2 separate regions of the Homo sapiens genome follow, and region 2 is linked to region 1. Evidence: promoter capture Hi-C in human tissues and cell types (Jung and others, 2019). All regions are on one chromosome and are shown on one strand. The core of a region is centred on a gene start or on the middle of the fragment in contact, and the rest is flanking DNA. Distances in the headings are between cores, read along the strand shown.

What was found. Contacts are between HindIII fragments. The study calls those that stand out against the background at their distance.
Region 2: a fragment that was not itself captured here is called in contact with the fragment with the promoter of ARHGAP33 in region 1 in 8 of the 25 tissues and cell types used here (H1 embryonic stem cells, adrenal gland, bladder and 5 more).

The regions. Positions count from the first base shown.
Region 1 is chr19:35,774,221-35,776,933 of GRCh38, reverse strand. ARHGAP33 (Rho GTPase activating protein 33) reads right to left here and starts at 1,370. Exons shown (of 21, transcript NM_001366178.1): 1 at 1,270-1,370. The coding sequence starts at 1,275. RefSeq lists a silencer at 1,109-1,588 and an enhancer at 1,819-1,878. The HindIII fragment of the contact is 39,613 bases long and covers 1-2,713 here.
Region 2 is chr19:35,693,926-35,696,638 of GRCh38, reverse strand. No RefSeq gene overlaps it. Among named protein-coding and RNA genes, the nearest start is that of ZBTB32, 9.3 kb to the left of the region's middle. The HindIII fragment of the contact is 5,192 bases long and covers 1-2,713 here.

The DNA.
Region 1 (2,713 bases), core at 121-2,620:
CAGGTCCCAACTCACATGTGCCCTCCTCCAGGAAGTTCTCCCTGACCCTTCAGGCTGCACCTGGCATCTCCTCTGGACTCTCTCCATCCCCTGAGGTTCCCCCATCCCAGGTTCCATGCCTTGACCAGAGCTTCTCCCTTCACAGCTCTGATCACTCTGAGATGGCACTGGTGGTGACAAGTTCATCTCTCTCATTGGACTATGACCGGCCTCCCAGAAGGAGGGCCCCAGACTGAGCTCCCCAGCATAGAGCTGGGCATTGAGTTGGTGTTCAGACATGATTGTTCCTGATTCTTTTCTGGGTCCCCAGTGCCAGCCCAGTCGCGCGCAGCAGGGACTGGGTAAAATCTGATGAATAAATTAACCAGCTGCCAGACAGATTCACTGGGCTGTAGCGTCTCCCTGCTCCATGTCCCTGCAACCCCCAGTCACCCTCAGGGTCTCACCCTCAGGGTCTGTCCCCCTCCAGCCCATAAGGTTCCCCAAGGCAGGATGGGAGCTGACTCTCTCTGTGCCTGGAGCGTGGGGCCTGCACAGAGGCGGTCTCAGTGAATGTCTGCTAAGTGAGGGAATGAATGGATGAATGAGCGGGAGCAGCATGGTGGGAGAGGGAAATGGTGGGGGAGGGGGATGAGGACAAGGAGATGGAGCAGACCCGAGGATCAAGGGAGGTACAGTGCTGGCCTGTTGGGGTGGAGTAAGGAAGGAGTGGCTGGAGAGACGAGGCAAAGGCTCAGACTGATGCGGGGCGGGGGGGATTGAGAGGAACTGGGATAGGGTGAAAATGAGGGAGAAGGAGAAGAAAAGGGTCAGGCTGGGGATGGAGCGGGTGGGGGGTGGGGCTCGGGAATGAGAAAGGGGCTGTGGGGAGGAGGAGGGGGCTCCGCCGGGGAGGGCTGAGGGCTGGCAGAAGGATGCCGAGGAAGGTGCTGGGATGGGAGCTGGGGAAGGACCCAGGAGCCTCAGGAGGCCCCTGCAGGGGCCACTTGGGTGGCGCGGGTCCCTTCCTGGACTAGCCCCGCCTCCTCCCAGCCCAGGCCCTAGGTCCCTGTCACCCCATCCAGGGCGTGGAAGACGGGGATGCGCGCTTAGGGGGCGGGGTCGAGGTACGGGCTGGGACCCGGGATGGGGCCGCAGGACGGGAGGGACCACGGCTGAAGCACAGGCCGCGGGATCGGGCGGGGCCGGGGGCGGGGCGCGCGGGGCGGGGCTGCGCACGGACAGACTGACATCCGGACGGACAGGCTGACGGCCGCGTGGGACCCTTACCACCATGGTCGCGTAGCCTCCTCAGGCCCCGGCCGCGCTCGACCCCTCGCTCGCCGTTCTCGTCGCCGCTGCCGCCGCCATGGCGACACAAAGGGGAGGGCGCGAGCCGCGCGCGGGCGGCTGCAGACCCCGCCCCTAACGGCTGCCCGTGGCTCCGGCGCGCGCCCCACGGGGGCGGGGGGCAGCGGGAACGCGGCGCTGCTTCTCATTGGCTCCGCCCTTGGCCTTAGGCCGATGCCCCGCCCACCCGGAGGCTTCTCATTGGTTTCACCTTGGGCTCCGCCCCGGCTCTGTGTCCTCGGTCCCGCCCCTCGAAGTTTGACAGCGCCACGCCCATGACTGCTTTTCATTGGCTGTCATCGCCCTCCTGAGACAAGCCCCCAGGTTCTTTATGCTTTGCTTCCGACACTTCCAACACCAAGCAATGGACCCTACCTTTCGTCCACTCCCAGTGTCCATTCTTCTGACTTTTTTATTTTTATTTCTTTAAGAGACAGGGTCTCACTCTGTCGCCCAGGCTGGAGCGCAGTCCTGCAATCGTGGCTTACTGCAGCCTCAACCTCCTGGGCTCAAGCGATACCTCCCATGTAGCTGGGACTACAGGCGTGCGCTACCACGCCTGGCTAATTTTTTTTAGACATGGGGGTCTCACTATGTTACCCAGGATGGTCTTGATCTCTGGGGCTCAAGAGATACTCCCTCCTCAGCCTCCTTTCAAAGCGCTGGGATGACAGGCGTGAGCCACCACGCCAGCCAGCCCCTGATAGTCTTAATTGGATTCTCCCACGGCCTCAGAGCAGTGCCCAGTTCCTTAAGCAGCTTTTCAAAGTCCCAGTCCCAAGTCTCACCTTTTCAGTCCTGATCCCGACCCCGCTCACATAATGCCGAGGACGCTCCGCCCATGGACGTTTCTCGTTGCCTCATATACCTTGCCTAGGACGTAACCCGAGGCTTTCTGCGATTTGGCCTCCCCTGCCCACTGGACATTTTCTTGTTTCCCCTTCTACTGCTTATTACGGGCCAATCTCCAGCCTTGATTTTTTTTTTCTAGGAAAATGCTTAGGGGGAAATGCCAGATCATGCTTATGCCCCCCATAAAGCCATTCCCAATGGAGCCTGCTAATACTGAGCATGCCCAGATAACACTGTAATAACGCCCTTCACAGGAGGGTCTCTCCTTAGTCATGCCCTCAACAAATTCTCATCTCAGAGGGTCTTGGTCTGTTCATTCATTCATTCATTCATTCATTCACTCAAACTCTAATCAATTTGTACATACATCAACAACCAAACCAGGAGAAAATATACCCTGCCCACATTGGAGCTCAAAAGCTACTGGGAGAAGACAATGAACAAAATTAACATTAAACAAAATATAGAATATTAGGCCAGGCGTGGTGGCTCACGCCTGTAATCCCAACACTTTGGGAGGCCGAGGCGGGCA
Region 2 (2,713 bases), core at 121-2,620, 80 kb after region 1:
AGAATCGCTTGAACCTAGGAGGCAGAGGTTGTAGTGAGCTGAGATTGGGTCACTGCACTCCAGCCTGGGTGACAAGAGCGAAACTCCATCTCAAAAAAACAAAACAAAAAATTCTGATGGTGCATGCCATTGGTGCTGAGCCCTGGGGAAGACCCAGCCCCTGCCTTCAAACATTTCACCTGCTAGAGAGGAATTAGACCTCAAAACATATTCTTCAAGAGCCAAGTGGAAAGTGTAGGAACTGAAGCTGAGAAGAGGCACTTAAGCTAAGGGGAGAAGGAGTGGAGAAGGGTGAGGGACAGCTTCCCACAGGAGGCGATGATGTTTGTGCATCTTTTTGGGGGTACTTACTATGTGCTAGGCATGGTGCTTGGTAGAAAGGACACAGTGGGAAGCAAAGAAGAGACTGAATGTAATGGTCTGCTAGGGCTGTGTAACAAAATATCACAGACTAGGGGGCTTAAACAACAGACATTTATTTCTCACAGTTCTGGAGACTGGAAGTCCAAAGTCAAGGTGCCAGCAGGGTTGGTTTGTCCTGAGGCATTTGTCCTTGGTTTGTAGAAGGCCACCTTTTCACTGTGACCTCATATGGCCTTCCCTCCGTGTGTGTGCACTCCTGGTGTCTCTTTCTATAAGGACATCAGGGATCAGGGCCCCACCCTTATGACCTCACTTAACCTAAGTTCCCTTCTTTATTTTCTTTTTCTTTATTTTATTTTATTTTTGAGACAGAGCCCTGTTTTGTCACCCAGGCTGCAGTGCAGTGGCAGGATCTTGGCTCGCTACAACCTCCATCTCCTGGGTTCAAATGATGCTGTTTTGGCCTTCCAAGTAGCTGGATTTAGAGGTGCCTGCCACCACGCCTATCTAAGTTTTGTATTTTTAGTGAAGGCCGGGTTTCACCATGTTGGCCAGGCTGCTCTCAAACTCCTGACCTCAAGTGATTTGCCTGCTTTGGCCTCCCAAAGTGCTGGGATTACAGGTGTGAGCCACTGTCCTGGCCAGTTTACTTTCTTAAAGTATCTGTCTTGGGCTGGGCGTGGTGGCTTACACCTATAATCCCAGCACTTTGGGAGGCTGAGGTGGGAGAATCACTTGAGGCCAGGAGCTCGAGACCAGCCTGTCCATCATGGTGAAACCCTGTCTCTACAAAAAGTACAAAAATTAGCCAGGTGTGGTGGCGCACGCCTGTAATCCCAGCTACTTGGGAAGCTGAGGCAGAAAATCACTTGAGCCCAGGAGGTGGAGGTTGTAGTAAGCTGAGATTGCACCACTGCACTCCAGACTGGGCAACAGAGCAAGACTCTTGTCTCAAAAAAAAAAAGGCTGGGTGTGGGGGCTCATGCCTGTAATCTGAACACTTTGGGAGGCCGAGGTTGGCGGATCACGAGGTCAGGAGATCAAGACCATCCTGGCTAACACGCTGAAACCCCGTCTCTACTAAAAACACAAAAAATTAGCTGGGCGTGGTGGCGGGTGCCTGTAGTCCCAGCTACTTGGGAGGCTGAGGCAGGAGAATTGCGTGAACCCAGGAGGTGGAGCTTGCAGTGAGCTGAGATCGCACCATTGCACTCCAGCCTGGGACACAGAGCGAGACTCCATCTCAAAAAAAAAAAAAAAAAAAAGTTAACTGATGTACCCTGAACCAGAGTTGTTTTTAGACAACAAATATTGCTTGTCTTGACTCTGGGTACAGATATATATATATGTATCTTTTCTTTTTTTTTTTTTTGAGACAGGGCCTTGTTCTGTTGCCCAGGCTCCTGGCCTCAAACAATCCTCACATCTCAGCCTCCCAAAGTGTCCTCAATTTTCTGAATGGATTTTTATGAGAGGAACTTTAATACCAGGGATCCTATTTTGGTCATTTTGTCCAGCAGGGCTGGGAGCAGCTCTTCAAAAAGACCATTTTCTTGTCCCTTTACCTTCCCTGTTTTGCATGATTCTGTTTCCATTTGTAGAGGATCTGAGAAGGCAGCTGATTCTGTGAGAAACAATGATTCTACTTCATGTTTTAAATAGATCTGTTGGGTTAAGTGACAAGTCCCTAGCTAGACTCAAGAAGGCACTGGAGAGCTATGGTCCTGCCACTGTACTCCAGCCTGGGCGACACGGTGCGATTCTCATTTTCTCTCTCTCTCTCTCTCAGACAAAGTCTCCCCCTATTGCCCAGGCTGGAGTCCAGTGGTGCTACCATAGCTCACTGCAGCCTCGAACTCCTGGGCTCAAGTGATCCTCCTGTCTTGGCCTCCCAAAGTGAGGGATTACAGGTGGGATTACAGGTGTGAGTCACTGTGCCTGGCTGAGACCCCGTCTTTTAAAAGAAAGGGGAAGGGGGAGGAGAAGGGGTAGGAAGAAGGAGGAGGAGGAGGAAGAAGGCGGAGGAGGAAAGAGGAGGAGAAAGAGAAAAAAGGAGGAGGGAAGAGGAGGAGGGTGAAGGAAGGAGAAGGAAGAAGGAGGAGAAAGGAAGAGGGATGAAAGAAAAGAGGAGGGAGGAAGAGGAAGAGGGAGGAGGAGGAGGAAGGAAGAGGAGGAGGGAGAAGGAGGAGGGAGGAGGAGGGAGGAGGAGGAGGGAGAAGGAGGAGAGGGTGGCAGTGGAGGTCACTCCCTATAATGTGGAGCATAGCAGCCACCTGCTGGTCACAGCGCAGTAGGAAGAACACAAAGCCCTGGAGTGAGGCAGAGGGGCCCTGGCTCCTCAGTGGCTCTC